7 separate regions of the Homo sapiens genome follow, and regions 1, 2, 3, 5, 6 and 7 are each linked to region 4. The links are contacts of gene promoters, found by promoter capture Hi-C in blood cells and fetal thymus (Javierre and others, 2016). All regions are on one chromosome and are shown on one strand. Each heading gives the region's core, a stretch centred on a gene start or on the middle of the fragment in contact. The rest is flanking DNA. Distances are from core to core; before and after follow the strand shown.

What was found. Contacts are between HindIII fragments. The CHiCAGO score rates a contact against its expected background, and 5 or more counts as called.
Region 1: a fragment that was not itself captured here is called in contact with the fragment with the promoter of HEY2 in region 4 in 1 of 17 cell types (total CD4 T cells); the score reaches 5.6 in total CD4 T cells.
Region 2: a fragment that was not itself captured here is called in contact with the fragment with the promoter of HEY2 in region 4 in 4 of 17 cell types (total B cells, naive B cells, endothelial precursors and 1 more); the score reaches 7.8 in total B cells.
Region 3: a contact is called between a fragment that was not itself captured here and the fragment with the promoter of HEY2 in region 4, in 12 of 17 cell types (non-activated CD4 T cells, fetal thymus, total B cells and 9 more). The highest score is 10.7, in non-activated CD4 T cells.
Region 5: a contact is called between a fragment that was not itself captured here and the fragment with the promoter of HEY2 in region 4, in 7 of 17 cell types (naive B cells, total B cells, megakaryocytes and 4 more). The highest score is 9.6, in naive B cells.
Region 6: a fragment that was not itself captured here is called in contact with the fragment with the promoter of HEY2 in region 4 in 15 of 17 cell types (total B cells, naive B cells, megakaryocytes and 12 more); the score reaches 34.3 in total B cells.
Region 7: a fragment that was not itself captured here is called in contact with the fragment with the promoter of HEY2 in region 4 in 4 of 17 cell types (megakaryocytes, naive B cells, total B cells and 1 more); the score reaches 13.8 in megakaryocytes.

What each region holds. Positions count from the first base shown.
Region 1 is chr6:125,244,283-125,247,114 of GRCh38, forward strand. All of the region lies in intron 3 of TPD52L1 (TPD52 like 1), which reads left to right. Among named protein-coding and RNA genes, the nearest start is that of HDDC2, 56 kb to the right of the region's middle. The HindIII fragment of the contact is 599 bases long and covers 1,120-1,718 here.
Region 2 is chr6:125,411,779-125,414,478 of GRCh38, forward strand. All of the region lies in intron 1 of LOC102723341 (a long non-coding RNA gene), which reads right to left. Among named protein-coding and RNA genes, the nearest start is that of HDDC2, 110 kb to the left of the region's middle. The HindIII fragment of the contact is 1,915 bases long and covers 345-2,259 here.
Region 3 is chr6:125,264,550-125,267,301 of GRCh38, forward strand. No RefSeq gene overlaps it. Among named protein-coding and RNA genes, the nearest start is that of HDDC2, 36 kb to the right of the region's middle. The HindIII fragment of the contact is 1,857 bases long and covers 490-2,346 here.
Region 4 is chr6:125,748,299-125,751,231 of GRCh38, forward strand. It overlaps HEY2 (hes related family bHLH transcription factor with YRPW motif 2), which reads left to right and starts at 1,334. Exons shown (of 5, transcript NM_012259.3): 1 at 1,334-1,561. The coding sequence starts at 1,479. HEY2-AS1 (HEY2 antisense RNA 1) reads right to left here and starts at 1,127. Exons shown (of 5, transcript NR_183491.1): 1 at 661-1,127. RefSeq lists a silencer at 843-1,552. The HindIII fragment of the contact is 5,509 bases long and covers 1-2,800 here.
Region 5 is chr6:125,377,816-125,380,777 of GRCh38, forward strand. The region is part of intron 1 of LOC102723341 (a long non-coding RNA gene); the gene reads right to left. Among named protein-coding and RNA genes, the nearest start is that of HDDC2, 77 kb to the left of the region's middle. The HindIII fragment of the contact is 2,970 bases long and covers 1-2,801 here.
Region 6 is chr6:125,359,688-125,362,464 of GRCh38, forward strand. No RefSeq gene overlaps it. Among named protein-coding and RNA genes, the nearest start is that of HDDC2, 59 kb to the left of the region's middle. The HindIII fragment of the contact is 158 bases long and covers 1,346-1,503 here.
Region 7 is chr6:125,393,994-125,396,877 of GRCh38, forward strand. All of the region lies in intron 1 of LOC102723341 (a long non-coding RNA gene), which reads right to left. Among named protein-coding and RNA genes, the nearest start is that of HDDC2, 93 kb to the left of the region's middle. The HindIII fragment of the contact is 3,042 bases long and covers 1-2,884 here.

The DNA of each region.
Region 1 (2,832 bases), core at 169-2,668, 500 kb before region 4:
CATTAGGAGAGGTATCCCTGGTTAGGCACTGGTTGTGGCTAAGGCAGGTGGGTAGATGTAATACCCAATGGTGGGCTGAGGTCCCAGCCTTGATGAAGTTGGCTGGAGGACCTCTCAATTAGATGTGCTGAGGTTTCATCAAGGTGAGGAGTGGGAGCTACCTCAGCTCTCCTGCCAGGTCAGCAGGAAAGCTACTCACCTCACAGCCTTATTCCTGTCCCAGTGTTCTGGCTATTCGGATAAGACAGGCACCTCTTTTCATCTATGGAAATGTTGATGTTCCAAGTAGGGAAGAATTGTGACTTTGCCTCTCATGCAGGCTTGAATCTGGAGTGTGTTCCTCCTGTGGGGCTGCACTCACCCTGGATTGTTCCAGAAAGGCTGTCTATAGGTGCCTCCATTCTTCTGGGGGAAGCCCAACTGTGTCTGCAGTAGAGTGCCAGGGGAAACAAGGACCCCTTCTTTAAGGTCCTACACAATCACAGGGGATGCCTGCCGTTTGGGGTAGAGGTACAGACTTTCCCTACTGTGCCCAGCACTGCAATTGTGTCTCTGCTATGAGAAACTTCCCACCACTGGAAAGATTTGGAACTCAAGGCCTGCTGTTCACATTCTTTTGTACCATAGGGTGATCCTTTGATGTAGTGCTCGCCCCCTTCCCTTAGAAATGGGACATCCTGAGAGCTGGACTGCAGTGATTGTTATTTCTCTTCTTAGTCTAACCACCCAGCAGGACTACCAGGCTCCAGGCTGGTGCTGGCAAATGTCTGCAAAAAGTCCTGTGATATGACCAGTCTTCAGGTCTCCCAGCTGTGGATACCAGTACTTGCTCTGGTGGAGGTGGCAGGGGAGTGAAGTAGACTCTATGAGAATCCTTGGGTTTAACGTGCCGGCTTTCTCAGATGCTGGTTATGCTAGCAGTGAAGTCGTCATGTGGACAGACTCAGGACCTCTGGTTAGCCAGGATGTTACAGGCAGCAGTATTAGCTGTTCTTTTCTTCTTCCTGGGATCAGGGTTATTCTGTCATGAGTTGCAGTAATGGCCTGAGTTGGTCTGCCTCCAGCCAGGAGGTGGTGTTTTCAAGAAGGCACCAGCTGCAGTAGTAACAGTGGGATTTAAGCTTGCACTAAATTGTCCAAGGGAGGTATTCTGGTTTCTCAGGCAATAGGTGGGTCCATAAAGCTCTCAAGAGTTTATGTCTTCTGTGTTCTGCTACCACGGCAGGTAGAGAAATACCATCAAGTGGGGGCAGGGATAGACTCTCCTTGGGCGGGTCAGACTCTCCTTGGGTAGGGCTTGCTGCAGCCACTGTGGGGGTTGGGGGGTGTGGTTCTCAGGCCAGTGAGGTTACCTTCCAAAGGGGATTATGGCTGCCTCTGCTGTGTCATATAGTTTATCAAGGAAGTGGGGGATACCTGGTAGCAAAAGGCCCCACCCAGCTCCCACGCAGTTGGCGAGGCCAGTCTCACTCCTGCAGTGCTCTGCTAATAGAGCCGAGTTTCCATCCAGGCAGCCTGTGCACAATGAACTCAGACCTGCCCCAGGCCATAGGCTTCCCTGCTGAGAAAGCAAGCACAGCTTTCAGGCCTCGCCCCTACCTGTCTGCCCACAGTGTTGGTAGCTCCTGCCCTCATATCTGCAGCAGTTTCCACTCACCCCCCAGATTCTGCTTAAGAAAGTTCACGCCCAGTGGCAATTATTATAAAATTCAGTTGGAAGCTTCTTTCACCCCATGACCCCTCCCTAATTCCACTGGCTGCCTTCCTGGAGGCGCTCTGTGAGATACAGTTATATACCTTCCCTGGGCTCAAGCTAGAGAAACTGGGAGTGCCTATAAGGCTTTTCCCATTGCTGCTACTATTGTATTTCACCCAGATCCCTGAATCCATTCCAGCTCTAATTTAGGTTAAATCCCTCTCCTGTGATCTGGATTTTCAGATTCCCTAGTGGAATTCAGAGGCAGGTGGTTCAGAGGCAGTGGGTTCAGAGGCAGGTTTTCTCTCCTCTCGCACTCTAGGAACTCAGTTTTTCACCCGTCTCTCAGAATTTGCAGTGGTGTGCCACTCCTTTCAAAGGATCTGTGAATTCTTTCGGTGTTCCTGGTAAGTTCCTATGGTGGTTCTTGGAACAAAAGTTCATGATGTGAGTCTCCACACACTATTCTGTCTGAGCAAGTGCAAGATGCACATTAGCCCTGTCTCCTATCTGCCATCTTCTGCCTGTCTCCTTGATAATAATATTTGATTTCATGTATAAACTGCCTGAAATTCCATGGTTTCATGTAGTCAAAAAATGTTTTTCCAAAATTAAAAGCTAAAATCATGTAGCAAAATGTAAAAATAAAATTTAATTTGAATGAGCTGACATTTTTTGGACCTTCAGAGAAAAAAAGAAATTAAGCAAACTTCCTAAAAGCTGTTCATTTCTTTCATCTTGTCTCATTTGCTGTTTGACCCAGTGCCATCTGGCATCCACATTCCTTGTTCTCCTCACACAGTCCTCTCCAGAGACACAAATTACCCCCTAGTCACCAGATTCTTCCTTGACCCTTATTCTGCTTGGTCTTTTCATTTTTGATAGGAAATGTCTGTTCAGTAAATGAACATTTGGTTTTATGATCTAGTTAATGTATGTTTTTATACTTCCTAAAAAAACATTGTGTTAATAAATAACATATAATGCTAACAATATTATAGACAGATTCCATTCTGCTCACAAAAAGAATACCACATTAATAAAGTTATTTCTGTCCTAGGGAAGACCAAGGCACATATTTGAAAATATTCACTAGAGCCTGAGATCATACTTAGGACTGGATGACTTGTGGGAGA
Region 2 (2,700 bases), core at 52-2,551, 340 kb before region 4:
AGCTCTGAAACTCTTCTCTTACAGAAAGTCCCTGGATAGCCTTTTGCTAGAACTTTTCGTGTTTGAAAACTTAGTATTTGTCATCTATGTTTCCAAGAGCTATTCAACAAGAAATTTCATAGAAATATGCTTTATGTTCTTTGGAGAAAATGATAGATAACTATGTCATTTTGAAATTGACTTTGTTTCCTCCCAGGAGGAAGGGAGGAGCCGGGCACTTCCCAGTACCAGAAAAACAAGGCAGGCAAGGGCAACAGCAGAGAAGAGGAAAGGAAAAGAGACTGTGTCCTCCTTTCATGAGAAGAAATAGCTCTTCCTGGGGCCACACAGACCAATAATACTAAAGCTTAAAGGAGGTTGAAAGTGGGAAAGTGCCTCTGCTGCTCAAGACTCCTCATGGCCTTCTGCTGCCATGAAGGCCAGCATCTCATGCAGATGTCCAAAAGGCTGCTTTTGGCTGCCACATCTGCAAGCTCAGTTGCTGGACTGTCCAGATCATTCTCTAGGGCAGCCTAGATGGAAAGGGAAAAATTGAACCAAATTTTATTTTTATGACCATAGAACTTACGTTTTCTCCTCAAGTTTGGAGAAGGAACCAACTAGATCTTACTTAAAATGCAAGAATACACCCAGTACCATGAGATGAGCTTTTATATTCCAAGACAGAGCCTGGAGCCCATCTTTTTAATTATGTTAAAAGACCCAGAAACTCTTACTTCATAATGACAATAAGACTGTATTGGAGCTGGAGGATACCTCCAAAACATTAACGCATCAAAGATGGTCATGTATTTGGTTTAATTGAATAAAAGAAAACGTCATGAAAATCTTTAAGTCAGCTGAACCCGGTTAAATTTTTCAAAATCTTGGAAAATTCTCTTTCATCTACGCTGATGAGGTTTTTAAACTTTTATTTCGGCTTACTAATTTGCTCATCTTTGAAGTGTTGAATTGGAAGCAAACCATTTAGCTTTTGATGATTATTTCCAGAATTTGGAGTCTGATCTCTTGGTTAATTTGCCTCGTGTTGACATGAAGTGTATTCTAGTGGCATATCATAAGTAAAAGTATAAATGTTCCTTTCTTCATCATCCTGAATCTAAGCAGACTCTATGTATGACATGCAGAGTCAATAGCAACAGGACCAGGGATAGGCATTCTCCACTAGTGAGTAATGTATTTCAAACTCCTACACTAGACCTGCCTTCGCACGTTAATATGTCCTTGGAAACTTTTAATCAAATTATTAAATTCAAGTATATTGTATTAGTCTGCTTAGGCTGCTATATCAAAGTCTGGGTAACTCAAACAACTGACATTTATTTCTCATAGTTCTGAAGACTGAAGCATAAGATCCGGGTCTAGCATGGTTGGGTTTTGGTAATGGCCTGCTTCTAATCTTGCAAATGGTTACCTTCTTACTGTATCCTAACATGGCACAGAGAGGAAGCTCTGGTGTTTGTTCCTCTTCTTAGAAGGGTATTAATCCCATCGTGGAGGCTCTAGCCCTCATGACCTCATCTAAACCTTATTACCTCCCAAAGGCCCCCGCTCTTAATACCATCATGCTGCGAGTTAGAAGTTCAGCTCGAGAATTTGAGGGAGACACATTCAGTCCATAGCATAAACAATTACTAATTTCAATTATTAAGTATTGCTTATAGTTAGCTATCGTACGATTTTTTTTGTTTATAAATTTCTTTTATTTGCAAATATAATTTAAGCCCCATGAAGTCCTTGTGAAATGTTTATCTTGATCTACATTTTGTAGAGAGGACAACAGCTTGAAGACTAGAGCTTGATGAAACAGCAAAGTGTCGGAGCCAGTGCTTGCCTTCAAGTTTTGACCATTTCATGCTTTTGTTACACTTCACTTGCAGTGGTGAGAAATAATAATTTTATGTATGCACGTATGTAAAGAGGCACTAAAAATACAAAAGCACTAGATTTTTCAAAATCATCATGAAATGGAGAAGGATTTCCTAAAGATGACATAAAACCAAGAATCCAAAATGAAAAAAAAGACAAATCTGACTGGATAATAATATTAAAGTTCTATAACGTATAAAATAAATAAGAAATAAGAATATGAAAATCACAGAACAGATAGGAAATATTTAAGATGCATATGACAGATGGGGGCTAATTTTCTTAATATACAAAGAGCTATTATAAATCAAGAGCAACAAAAATGATTTAAAAATGAACAAAGAACACGAATAAGACATTAACAGAAAGAAATACAAGTATATAAAAGTAAGCTTGCTCTCTCTTACACAAGTTGAGCATTTCTGTTCTGAAAATCTGAATTCAAAATGCTCCAAAATCCAAGAATTTTTGAGCACTGACGTGACGCCAAAAGTGAAAAATTTTACACCTGATCTTCTATCATGGCTCACAGTCAAAACACAGTCAAAATTTTGTTTTCTGCACAAAATTATTTAAAATATTGTATAAAATTACCTTCAGGTTGTGTGTATAAGGTGTATATGAAACAGAAATCTCAGTTTTCTTTTCTGAATTTAACTAAGAGTAATACTCAGGTACTTGATATTTGTTTTAAAAACAAATGAATAAATGGGTTAAAAATTGGTAGCTTTGTCCTAAAAACAAAAACAAAAACAAAAACAAAACTCCTATACATAAATAAGACAGCACAGCCATGTTAGCCAGAGCTGTCCTTCACATCATGTTTTTAGT
Region 3 (2,752 bases), core at 168-2,667, 480 kb before region 4:
GAAAGCTCACTAGCAGGGATGCTGGCATTCTCCCTTATTTGTGCTTCCAGCCTGTTGGTTGAAGTAGAGGCAGGAAACCAACCCTGCCCAGCTGGTTCTCAGGCCGTGCTGGCTCGCCCACCACAGCACACAAGTACTCAGTCTCTGTGCCCAATCTATAGCTGCCTGTTGAGTGTGAAGTGGCTAACTTGTGAAAACTCCCTGCCACCTTCTTTTTTTACCATATTCAGCACACCGCATTGTATTAGATAAAGTTATGGTACTTTAAACAAATATCTCCGTTCACCAACCAATTTCTGCACACCATAGTCTCAGCCTTATAATCTGAAAACACAATATTAGAATTGGATAGAAAAACAATCAAGAAAACTTGTGGTAATATCTTAAAGCTTCCAACACATTTTAGCTATTTATTTTATTCCATTCATCAAAATTCTGATTTCATTAGTTTGGTAAGAATCTTATGCACATCATCTCTATTCATCTAAAAGCTTTTCATTATTCACTCTGACCTAGAAGTGATATTCATAATGGCCATGGCATAAGTAGCATTTTTTATTTTTGTCATAAAATGTGTGTGAATAACTCAGATTAGATAAATCAAACACTTGTTGGTAGGTGGGCAGTCTTACCTAGTTTAGGCAGTGAGCCTACTCTTAGCTTCAGGAGCATCACTAAGAGCTGCCTGGTCCTCCCTCACCATGGGTGTGCAAGATCATCCTGATGGGACTGATTGCTGAGCTTCTCAATTACATCTAGTGAGGCTCAGTTCACAAGCAGTAGTTTAAAGTGTTTCACAAGTCCTAAAAAGTAATTGCACACAATGGACATAACCTTTTACTAACAAACCAAAATGACTTCAGGTCAACACCATGTGTGTATGAAAGGATACCTCCACAGAAAATGTACAGTTGACCCTTGAACAACAGGAGTTTGAACTGTGAGGGTCCACTTATGTGCAGATTTTCTTCTGCCTCTGGCACCCCTTGAAACAGTGATACCAACCTCTCCCCTTCTGCAGCCTACTCAACATGAAGACAATGAGGATAAAGACCTTTATCATCATCTGCTTCCACTTAATGAATAGTACATATATTATCTCTGTTGTTTTTCTTTTAACATTTTGTTTCCAGAGCTTACTTTATTGTAAGAATACCACATGTAATGCATATAACATAAAAATATGTGTTAATTGGCCATTTATGTTATCAACAAGGCTTATGGTCAACAGTAGCTGTTGGTAGTTAGGTTTAGGGGGTGTCCAAAGTTAGAATCAGATTTTTGTTTTATTTATTTATTTATTTTTTTGAGACTGAGTCTCACCCTGTTGCCCAGGTTGGAGTGCAGTGGTGCAATCTTGGCTCACTGCAACCTCTGCCTCCTGGGTTCAAGCAATTCTCTGCCTCAGCCTCCCGAGTAGCTGGGATTACAGGCACCTACCACCACGCCTGGCTAATTTTTGTATTTTTAGTAGAGACAGGATTTTACCATCTTGGCCAGGCTGGTCTTGAACTCCTGACCTTGTGATCCACCTGCCCTGGCCTCCCAAAGTGTTGGGATTACAGGCGTGAGCCACAACTCCCAACCTAGAATCGGATTTTTGACTGTGCAGGCCTAATCCCCGAGTGGCTCAGGCGTCAATTCTTTCAATTATCAAAAATTCTGATGCAATTGTGATTACAAAACAAACTAGCTTTTAAAAAAAGTAAGCCATTCTGAAATTTAACGATTTACCACATTTTAAACACAGTTGCTATGATGAACATATTTGTAAATTTACAGTGCTACTTTATCTCACAACTCACATCACATAAAGATTACAACTATTGGCTGGGCATGGTGGCTCATGCCTGTAATCCCAGAACTTTGGGAGGCCAAGGTGGGTGGATCAACTGAGGTCAGGAGTTCGAGACCAGCCTGGCCAACACGGTGAAACCCCGTCTTTACTAAAAATGCAAAAATTAGCTGTGCTTGATGGCACATCCCTGTAATCCCAGCTACTTGGGAGGCTGAGGTGGGAGAATCTCTCGAACCAGGGAGGCAGAGGCTGCAGTGAGCCGAGATCTTGCCACTGCCTTCCAGCCTGGGTGACAGAGAGATGAGACCCTGTCTCAAAAAAAGATTACAACTATTGGCAGGTCATTTTAGCAATGCAATCTGCATATCTTACTCTAAATTACACATTTTGTTAGAAATCTGTTCTTGAACCATAGCAAACAGAACAAAGTGCATGCTTTAGGATGTGTCTTCATGATATGCCATGCCGTTCACAGTGGCCAGTGTAGAGGGAACCCAGGGATCTACACGGCTCTTCTGTCACTGTTCATTGTTCCAAAATTACGTGTAAGCTTTAAAGTTGTTCAACATCAACCCCATCGTCCTCCTCTCACTTAGTATTCAATTTGAGTGGAAGTAGTGTGATAAAGGAAGATGGTGGTAAGGTTGAAAAGTGACTTAATATGAAATGTGAAACAACTTCTTCAAACCTAGCATTCAAATGTAATTTCAAACTATAACAATATTTGGCAAAATCTTATGGCTACTTTTGATAACTTCTAAGCATGGTAAAATTCTTTATGCTACATTTCTGCTTGACTTTCAGTTCACACCAGAGGGTATATTCATGTACACACACATTATATATATAATATATATAATACATATCCATCCATTATATATATATATAAATTAAAGCAAACCAAAAATGACAAAATCATGTCTTTCACAGAAATCATCCCATTTCACCTTTGAA
Region 4 (2,933 bases), core at 84-2,583:
GATCCCCAGGAAGCTATGAATCCCTCCGTGACGGAGGGGTCTGGGGATCGATAGACGGCCCTTTCTCAGAGGCTCTCTCCACTACTGACCAAGCGGCCCTGCCAACGTGTGGTTTCCGGCTGGACCCCAACCCAGCCGCCGCCAGTCTCCCGGCGCCCCTGGCTGGGTCTCGCTCAGTCCCTGCCCTCGCAGACGCACAGCGGGGTGGCCAGTTCAAAAGTCCTACATAACTTGGAGAGAACCAGCAGCTAGAAAACCTGTTTTAAACACACAGCTTGAGTTTTATACAACCCACGTTGTCCAAGGCACGAACTGTTGGACACGAATTCATACTTTAGAAACCAAATCTAATTTCCAAGCGCCAATCTTCACCTCCCGGACTCTAACTCTGCGGCTGCGAGTGCATACACCAGGGGGACTGGAGGAGACTGGAGGCAATTATCTGGATAATCCAAGCCCGAAAAACTCGAACTTGAAAATATACGATTATGTCCTGAAATGCCCGCGTCATTGATCTAGTCTTTCCTACCATCAGAGCTGACACAGCTCCAGTCCACGGGCTTCTCCGCGGGGTCTAGGATCCACAGTCCCTGGGGGCTGAAGACCCAATGGAAGTAACTGATGGATCGCAAATTGGAAATCGTAACGTGGCCGACAGACCTGATCAGGAAAACTCGCGTCCTTATATGAAACAGCCCCGAGGCCGCGAAAGTAGCCTCAGGAGTTGTCAGATTCAAAAGCAATTTTGATTTAAGGTTTTCAAAAGCCCCAGAGGGCAAATGTGACCACTCGGGTCAGCCAGTCAGCAGTTTGGATCCAGACAGGGGACCACCGAGTGGGGCGGCCGAGGAGCCGCGGCGCCTCCCGACGTCACACGCGCCTGCTCGCACTTAGCCACGCGCTTGGGGTTATTCTTTACACTCAGGACTGAAACTTCGCCCGCGAGACCGCGGGGCGCGGAGGAGGGCCGAAACCCAAGGTCCAGGTCCAGGGCCCGCCCCCGCGCGCCCGCGTTGGCGCCCGCGCGCTCCCTCCGCAGGGGTTAGCAAGATTGCGCTCATTCTCGCCCCGGCTGCTCCCCACCCGCTCGCTGCTCTGGGGTACCAGGTCCGCGGCCGCGTTCCCACGCCTCGGCTGGAGCCTTGCGGCGGGCATTGGCGAGCGCGGCCCCGCCCCCTGGCCCAGCCAATCGCGAGCCACGCCGACCAGCGAGGGGGAGGTGCCGGGCGGAAGGCCTGGGCCGGTGCGCGGGGGCGGGTGAGGTGGCCCCACCCGCTCGAGGGGGGGGCGTGGCCGGCGCCGGCTCTTGCGGCCGAGCAGAGTTGCGGCGTGGGAAAGAGCCGCTAGGAGCAGACCGCGCCGCCGCCGGAGCCGCGCCTGCCCAGGCCCGGGGAGGGAGGAGGCGGGCGTCAGGGTGCTGCGCCCCGCTCGGCGTCCGAGCTTCCGGCCGGGCTGTGCCCCGCGCGGTCTTCGCCGGGATGAAGCGCCCCTGCGAGGAGACGACCTCCGAGAGCGACATGGACGAGACCATCGACGTGGGGAGCGAGAACAATTACTCGGGGTGAGCGCGGGCTCCGCGGGAGCGGCCCGCAGCTCGGGAGCTTGGGGTAGCTTTGTGAATGCGTGGCTCCCTGGAAATCCCGAGGCTGGTCTCCGCAGCATCTAGGTAGAGAGGGAAAGTTTGGCCTGAGAAAGTTTGAGTGGTGGGCGCTCGCAGAGCGTGAGTTGGGATGGGGCAAGGGATGTGGATTTTCACCGTAGGGGTGGAGTAGCCAGGATGGGAGACGCCACTGAAAGGCAGAGCGCAGGAGTTGGCGAGGGAGGGTCCTGGCTGTCACAGTTGGACGCGCGAACGGCAGCGTCTGGGCGACAGGCGATGTCCCAGCCACTGAAACCGTATTTGGGGGCACTTTCAAAATAGATCAGGAGAAAATAAAAACAATTTGATTTTTGATTTTTAGAGATACCAAAATCACAACTTGATTTTTGGAGGAATTAAAGCAACCTGCGATGTCAAGGCTACGTAGGTTGAACTTTGCAGGTTGACCGTGTGTGACTTGGCTAACGCAAGAGTGAGTGACAGATGTAAGCATCGGAAAGGGCATCATTTCTTTGACTGCTTGTTCTCAAGTCTGGAAGAGATCGGCGTCGTAATCACAGAAGCCAGACCTCCACTTTCCTGTGACAGAGGGAGATTACCGAGGCATTTTAGAGCCAAGGCGGGTCAAATGATAATTGCTTCTAATTGGCATCCCCAGAAGCACCTTAATTATTTATCTGCAGCTGTCACTCAAAGAGGGAAATTCTTCCTACCTTTGGAAAACTGGTTTTCTTTCATATTGTTATTCTAATACATACAAAGCAAAGCACAAAATCTGCAAGAGCAAAGATATTTACACGAAAGCAAAGGTTTAAGTATCTGATCATTAAAGTGTTGTTGTGCCGTCTTTAAAAATGAGGTCTGAAAAACAGAAGCTATCACGTGAAAGGTGAAACCCGTAAAGAAGGGGTGAAAATGAGGGGGACAGGTAATTCAGAAATAAGATCCAGAAGTGAGAAGGTGAGGTAATAGCAACCTGGTGTGTGCAGCATTTCTAAAATGAAAGAGAACAAATAACAGGAACCTGGGGAATTTGAGAACACAAAGAAGCATAGTATCCATGAATTATGAAGAGAAACAGATACAAACTAGAAAGGATTGTAAAAATTATGTGACCAAATAATACTTTGATTGAACCTTCAATATAAAAATATATTTTCATTAGTAAATCCAAGGTGCATTGCAGCTTCTGGAGATTTAAGCTTAGCCTAAAGTCTGAGACACACCTACAGTTTCATTTTCAAAGTAAAACATTCACCTAGTAATAAAATGAGTTTTAATTTTCCTATCAGTGGCATATTTAGGGCATATTTTTGGAAGATTAGTATGCAAA
Region 5 (2,962 bases), core at 67-2,566, 370 kb before region 4:
GACTGAGTTTTATCTCATGTTCCTTTTCTTATGAGGGATACGGGCCCCCATGCTGCTCAGGCTGACTTCTCATGGAAGAGGGGCTGAATCTGAGTCATTAGAAAACCACATATGGTTTCACTTCCAATGACATCTGGAAAGCAAGAGGTCAGATAGCATCATAGAGATGTCTTGGTGAAAACAGGGACTGAGCTAACGCTGTTCTCTTTGGGAGATTAGTAGGGAGCGAAATGTGGATGGAATTTTAGTGGAGAATTAGAATAATGTTTCTTTTCCTTTACTCGCCTTCTCAAATTACCCTGAAGAGGAGAGGTAAGGACAGAGAAAAATAGGGAAGAACAGCAGAAGGAGCTACTTGAGGGATCACAAGAATTTAAATAAAATCATAACCCTCCAAAAAGAACTGAAAGTTTTTCAACCTCATTTAAGTACTCCCCTTGTGTCTCAGCACTGAGTGGATTCTCATTAACATTTTATATTTAAAGAATTTAGAAATAACTTCTATACATTTTGCTAAAATTTGTTTCTCAAGGCATAATAATTTTCATTTAATTTAACGTGATCAAATAACATAAACCTTGCTACATTTAAACAAATAAAAATAGTATTGGTACTAAAGAAAGCATGTTCTTGTTATAATAGAATCAATTATGACCAATTCATACCCTCCCCAGAATTGGCACCAAGAAACGTGATGGGCACAATAGAAAGATGAGGCAGAAAGCACTCCCTCTCCCTCCCTAAACACAGAACAAGTTCCCTCAAGTCTAATCCCCCCAGCAAGGGATCCCACAGTTTTTCATTAATACAGTACAAAAACATATGGTTAAGAAATAAAAAGAATATAAAGAAATGAGTAGAAGAGCTACGGAATTCAAAGAAAACACATTCCCTGGTTCATACCCACATCTAACTGCCTCAGAAATTTCAACAAACATCAGATGTGATTTTCAAGATGTTTTTTGCTTATTTATGAGCGAAATGCAGGGACTTCCCTATGGGGTAGTAATAATATTTTCTTTCCTTGTATTGAGTTATAATTGTATAGGGTTATTGTGAGGATTAAAATGGGATCTTTGTAAACTGTTGAAGAAATATATAAATTTGTATTTCCAAATTATGAAAACTAATTCTTACTGTTCAGGAAGTGTGGATATGGTTATAGAAGAAAGGAAAGGATAGATTTTTGCCCTAAGTGTGTACCAATCTAAAGATAAAAATTGAAAGTTGTTTTTGGAGAAAAAAAATCCTGACATTAGCCATTTAACAAAAAAATCATTCTTCTTTTCTAGAAGTAAATTCCAGAGAAAAGTAATCCAGTACTGATTTCTATGTGTGTGTCTTACAGTGGAATATAACATATGGGAAGAAATGCCCTGCCCAAAAGGTTCCAATTTTCTTAGAAAGCCCTGAGATCAGGATGAAAGACTGAAAAGAGGGAGGAAAGAAGGGGGGATGAAAGAAAAGTAGGGGAGGAGAGGGAAGGAACAAAGGAGGAAAGAAAGCCACAATAAGACCCAACAAGCAAATGTCTTTTAGCTTCTTAAGAGTAACTTGCTGTTATCCTGCGTGCACACACTGCAGCCCAGCGCCACTATTTGGGCGTTAGCTAGTTTTTTAATCTGAGGCTTTGACTTCCTTTCATCTTCCTGAATCTGATCTAGTTCATCTTTAGAAAGTGCTTAAGGGACTGAGGATCGCAAAGACTCACTCTAAAGAAGATTAAGGTAAATAACAGGTTGGGAAAGGGTTTTTTTCTTCCTTTTGAGTTCAGGCCTTTGAGAATATTTTCACATTTATTTCTATTTAAAGCAAAATATAATTCTTTTACAGGAGTTGAAAGTTGGAATCATTATATCAGCAGGAAAGAGTATCTACTCCACATTCATCTACACATGATGGCAGGATAGTGAGAGTAAAAATGTTAGCAAAATCCCAACCCCGTTCTCCCAAAGTGTGCAGTCATCCCTTCGATTAACACATAATTTACTGAGCACCTACTATGTGCTGTGCATTCACTGTCCCAGGCCTTGGAGATATAGTAGTGAACAAAACAGATGAAAATTTCTTCTCTCAAGAACTTGACATTCTTGGAGTAAAAGGTAGTGAACTGGAGATGCTCTAAAACATCACTAATTTGTCAGATATTACTTGCTTTAAATGCTCTCATATATGTGCATATTGAGTAAGTCTAAGAGTAAGATAAGATTTTTTGAAATTCTAGAAGCAGGAAATAAATGTTTTAAGATCCTTGACCATTTAAGAAAGTTGGAATATATACAAAATATAAGTTTTAGTAGTTTTAAAGCAAATCTAAAATGATTTTTTTAGTTTGAAGAACAAAAGTAGGTTATATAAAATGATTTTTTTCCAGAAATTTTTAATTTTTGGTATTCAGAGATTGACAGTTCGGGTGCCATATAAGCAAGGAAGAAAAATATTTTTCCAACATATTTCACGGGAGAGATGGGAATTGGAGGGAAAGTTTTAAAAAATATTTCTCCCCAACTTTTCTAATTTCATTTTTGTTGTGCTCTCATAAAGCCCAGCCCAGTGTCCTGTCTTTTATAGCTTTTCAACGAATATATGTTGCACAATTATTTTGTCAGTGTGAGGCAAATTCTTGATGTAGAAAACACCTCAAATGTATTGTAGAGCAAAATGTTGTATTAGTTTATGAGACTGACGCACTGCCTACCGTGATAAGAAGGCACCATTATTTTATTAGTTTAAAGCTAAAAAATAACCATATGATTACATGGTTTACAATTAACTCAAACCTTTTCATCCTCAAAAGCGCAAGCTTTCTTTTTAGAAATGAGTAGTGCTTGCCTTCTATTGTTCAAAATTTAATGGAAATGATGACATTGCTTTATTTTTTAACCTGTTAAAAAGATAGTTTTTATAAAATTGCTTCATTATTTTATAACTCTAGAAATTCTATATTATTAAATTACTTACA
Region 6 (2,777 bases), core at 175-2,674, 390 kb before region 4:
GAAGAAGAAGAAGAAGGAGGAGTAGAAGGAGGAAGAGGAGGAGAAAGAGGAGAAGAGAGAGGGAGAAGAGGGAGGGAGAACAGGAGGGGGAGAAAAAGAAGAAGATAAAAAATAAAAAGAAGAAGAATCAATTTATCATATCTCTCTCCTTGCTTCCTTATGGTACACACCCCTATCTCCTATTCTAGCAGTACCAGGTTGTACATTTACATCTTTTGGGACAACTGAGATATCAACTATGCTCACCATCTGGTTTGTTACTCCAGAACACTAGTAAGTGGGATGTATGTCAGGTTTTCTCTGTACCAGTTGTAATCAGTACATGTGGTAACCGCACTGAGATATTCTGACTCGAGGAGATACTTCACAGCTGGTAAACTGATAAGCTAGTCAAATTTAATAATTCTAATTTCTGTTTTTCCACATACTTATAATTTTCCCCAGTAAGTATTATGTTGATCTTGTGTTATTAATAAAAATTATAGGGTGTTTTGATCATTTTTGTGACTGCTGGGACAGTTCTTAATCTTCCATGCTTTTTAAAGAATTTTGATAAAGCAAAGCACTACTAATTTTCAGACAGCTACATCTGCTTAGCTTATATAATTAGGTTTTTATAAGTTTCTTTCAAATTTTGTCTGTGCCTCCCAGTAAATTGTTTGAAAACTCACTGGTTAAAAATGACAATTTCTCACCATTAGTTCACACATTTTGAATGTTTGTGTATCCTGGAGTGGTCTTACCACTTTTAAATCAGCTTTTCCTAAGTCAATTAGCTTTAAAAAATTATAAACTTATTTATGTCTACTGATGTTTACCTGCTTAGCACTAGTCTAAATTGTTCTTCAAATGTATTTTTATATTCTTTTTATTTTTTATTCAAGAAAGAAAAAAATAAAACCTCTAAGAGGAATGAAGCCCTATTTTTATTGTAGTTTTTGATGGATATTACTGAAAAGAACATACAAATCGTAATTGTTTTCCTAACGTGGGAAAGCAAAACCTAGAAAAGTACCACCTTAATCTGCAATTAAATGAACTATAGTGTATTCATTCAATACAATTTCATTTTATCATTTCTTTAATGACAGCAAATTTGTTATGTATAAGTTTACAAAGTTGTTCTCATATTTTAAAAGCATGAAAGCAAGTTTCAGAGAAGTATGGGTAGCATGATTCTATTTGCATGCAAATGGTATAGACATATATATCTTTGCTTATGCAGAAGAACTCTTTGGAGGTACCCGCACCTGTTAACAGCAGCAATCCTGGGGCATAAAATGAAGATATTTTCTATAATGCTCTGACATTTGATTTTACTGAAATTGGATTTTTTTCTAATAAAAGCTTCAAACAAAATTCCATGTTTCCAAAGAACAGGGGTATCTCCTTAAATTTTAGCATATCTGTTTAGTTCACCTATCTCTTCATACACTTTTGGTAATGCTCATCAATGGATGGGGCCTGTACTGTGGCTGAATGTGATTAGGTCTTTTTACAGAAAGCTTTATTATTACTTACTGCTCCAGTAAAATTAAAATAACCAAGTGTCCATTCTAATATTTTTCAAAGACTCCACTCTACTTAATTTCTCTTATCTCTTCCCACACCCAAGGCCATGCCTTCATCTCTAGCAGTGCAAACCTACCTGATATGCCCTCAGAGCATATTTCTCTATTTGTTTTAGTCAAACCACTCATTCCTCTTCTGCAAAGCCTTACTTACAGCTCCCCTCTCTATGCAGCATTCCCATCGCCTTTGACCCTGAGACCACGGTTATCACTGTGACCACTGCGCAATACTGCTTCTTCCTCTCTCCTTCACATATCACTCAAGTTTGACCTTCTAGCCCAGAAAGCACACAGACAGCCTAACCTCAGAAATACTACTATTTAGTTCCACATGGGTTTGCAGAGCTTTCTGGTTACAACACATTTTGAAGAGAGACCTTTAGATTTTGTCTTATCTCAAAGTTCAGGTAAGCAAATTAAGCTCAAAAAATCATTTCTGGGAGAACATCAATCTTTGGAAATTTTTTTCAGCCATTTCATATTGAGGCATTCGTGTTTTTTACTTTGCTTGTATTAAATAAAATCTAATCGCTGAAGAGGTTTTTCAGTATTCTTAAATGGTTCTACTTTGAGATTTAAATGTTTTTGCTTATAGACCATACCATAAACCCTTGTTACTTGTGTTTGGTTGGTTCATTTGTCTTCTGCCTAGCACCACTAAGCCCAGTATTCCAATATTAGCTGATCTCCTTAGTCCTTCCATGGCTACGGACTACGCAAATGCATGCCCTTGGTCAAAAGTAGGTGTGGCAGGAAGAAAGCCAAGGAAAACACTGAGAGGAGCTGGGGAACAGATGTGATTATTACTTTGACACTTTAAAATGTGCCCTAGTTTGCTTTAAGTACCTCATTCATAAACAAATAGTTTCAAACATTATTGGGCATTTCATGGGCACTTTATGAGTATTTTCAAGGCTGCATCAATTAAGCAAGCAGCTAATCATTTCATCCACCTTTTTCAGGGTATGTCAGAGGAGATGTGGACAGATAAGATATATGGACAAATTATTAACTATGTGAAATAATTTCCCTAGAAATACCTAACTCATGTAAGCAAGTGTTAGGTATTTCTAGGGAAGAAATGTAACTTTTTCTCTGAGAGACTGGGAATATATTCATAGTTAAAGGGACACTTGGCCTGGACTTCGAAGGATGGATACAATTTCAATAGACAGGTGAAAAGTGTCTTATGAATCACATGGCACA
Region 7 (2,884 bases), core at 120-2,619, 350 kb before region 4:
AAAACCATTTTATTTAAAAATCACACTTGGGGTCCTAATAAAAACTGAAAACTTAATGAGATGGCTGGATTTTGCCTGTCAAAGCAAATTTAATGGGACAAAATTTAAAAATAGGGTATTCTGTGATGCCATGTGTTCAGGTAAAGTTAAAATTTTAGCTGTGTATAATAGTTCAAGATAATTTTTTAAAACTCTGTCTTTTCTATAATTATAATGCAAATCTTTTCTATTTATGTAATCTTTTGGTTTGAAGAAGATTTGATGAAATTTGCCCTATTTAGATTAGGGGCATATAAATTAATGCTAAAAAATATATCAAATAATTTTTATAGCATCTACTAACCAGGAGCATATCTAAATTTACATTTATTTTTCTAAAAGATAAAAATATAATTTTGGCAATAGAATTGTATTCGTCCATTTTCATGCTGCTGATAAAGACATACCCAAGACTGGGAAATTTACAAAGGGAAGAGGTTTCATTGGACTCAGAGTTCCACGTGGCTGGGGAGGCCTCACAATCATGGCAGAAGGCAAGGAGGAGCAAGTCACATCTTGGATGGTGGCAGGCAAAGAGAGAACCTGTGCAGTCAAACCCCTGTTTTTTTTTTTTTTTTTTAAACCATCAGATCTCGTGAGACTTACTATCACGAGAACAGCACGGGAAAGACCCGCCCCCATAATTCAATCACTTCCCACCAGGATCCTCCCAAGACATGTGGGAATTGTGGGAGTTACAATTCAAGATGAAATTTGGGTGGGGACCCAGCCAAACTATATTAAGAATCTGTTTTTGTATCTTATCTGTAGATACCAGATGTGTTTAAAGAGATAAAGGTAGTAGGGAGAAAATAACTTTTAAAGTTCCATTTACATTAAAAACTTTTTGAATCATCTGTACTTGAAATGTGGCTATGAACTATTTGTGACTGTGGTAATATATAGCAGTATAATTATCCAAAATGACTTTTCTCAAGGCTAGAATCCATCTCCAGTGGCATCTACAATACCCATAATTTAAAGCAGCTCTGAATTTTTTTTCTAGGTGTGCAATGTTCAAGATTTGAGGAGGACCTTCCTAATTCTAGGACTTAGTAGAAAAGTCAGTGTTCACTTTTCTATATATTCCCTTAATAATTTTATAAACTTATGTAATTCGTCCTTATAGTTATTTTTATTTAATAGACTTAAACATGTCATACTTTTTCCATTTATATAAATGTATTTATAAGATTTTTGTTTATATCTTTGCAGTCATTTTATACATATTATGTAGCTGATGTACATTTATGATTATATTAGATCTATAGTATCTTGAAACTTTATAATAGCTATTTACTCATATCAATAAAATTGATAAAGATATAATTTTAATTGCTGCATATTTCATAATATGGATCTGCTATAGTTTATTTAACCACTCTGCTTTGTTATAAAAGGGTTAGTTCTTTCTGACCTTTTGTTATTTTAAATAGTGCTATGATTAATTTATTTGTTCAGGAATTTTTTACTTTCTCTTTTACTAACTTCTTAGAATGAATTTCAGACAGTGAAAATACTGGTTCAAAGATATTTTCCCCATTGGTTTAGGATGTTTCTTTCATCATATATTAGGTTCTTATATATTACAGTCAACACCAGGCCTATGTATTTTGTTACATCAATCTGTCTACTGATTTTAGCACCATATTAAATTTTATATAAAGTTTTAATACCTTATAACATAAGTTCTTCCCTAGCTACTCTTTTTCAAACTTCTTAAAACATTTTGTCCCCAAATATTCTTGACTAAGTTTGTCTCTTTATTCTTCAAAATGAAGTTTACAAAATTTTTAATGTCATAAATGTATACCTTGTGAAATTTTATTGGACTTGAATAAATGTATAAATAACTTTGGGAAGAATTAACATATTTCATGTTTCGGGCAGTTCCAAGATGGCCGAATAGGAAGAGCTCCAGTCTACAGCTCCCAGCATGAGTGATGCAGAAGATGGGCAATTTCTGCATTTCCAACTGAGGTACCGGGTTCATCTCACTGGGGCTTGTTGGTCAATGGGTGCAGGAAAGGGGGTGCAGCCCACCGAGCATAAGCCAAAGCAAGGTGAGGCATTGCCTCACCTGGGAAGTGCAAGGGGTCAGGGAATTCCCTTTCCTAGCCAAGGGAAGCTGTGACAGGCGGCACCTGGAAAATCGGATCACTCCCCGCCTAATACTGCGCTTTTCCAATGGTCTTAGCAAAGGGCACACCAGGAGATTATATCCCGCAGATGGCTTGGAGGGTCCCATGCCCGTGGAGCCTCGGTCATTGCTAGCACAGCAGTCTGAGATCAAACTGCAAGGTGGCAGTGAGGCTGGGGGAGGGGCGTCCGCCATTGCTGAGGCTTGAGTAGGTAAACAAAGTGACCTGGAAGCTCGAACTGGGTGGAGCCCACCGCAGCTCAAAGAGGCCTGCCTGCTTCTGTAGACTCCACCTCTGGGGGCAGGGCATAGCTGAACAAAAGGCAGCAGAAACCTCTGCAGACTTAAATGTCCCTGTCTGACAGCTTTGAAGAGAGTAGTGGTTCTCCAAGCATACTGGTTGGTATGCTTGTGGTGAAGGATTTCTCTTGGTTGGTGGGTTTAATGTGTTATAGTTAGTCAAGGTATTCTAGTTCTTGCTTGTAAGCATGTTTGCAAGGTGATTATTGTGAGACTTGGTTTTATACGTACTATGTACAGTCAAGCATTTATAGTACTATATAATATTCATGGTGGCTAGCAGTTTGAGATCTGAGAACAGACAGACTGCCTCCTCAAGTGGGCCCCTGACGCCCAAGTAGCCTATCTGGAAGGCACCCCCCAGTAGGGGCAGACTAACACCTCACACGGCCGGGTACCCCTCTG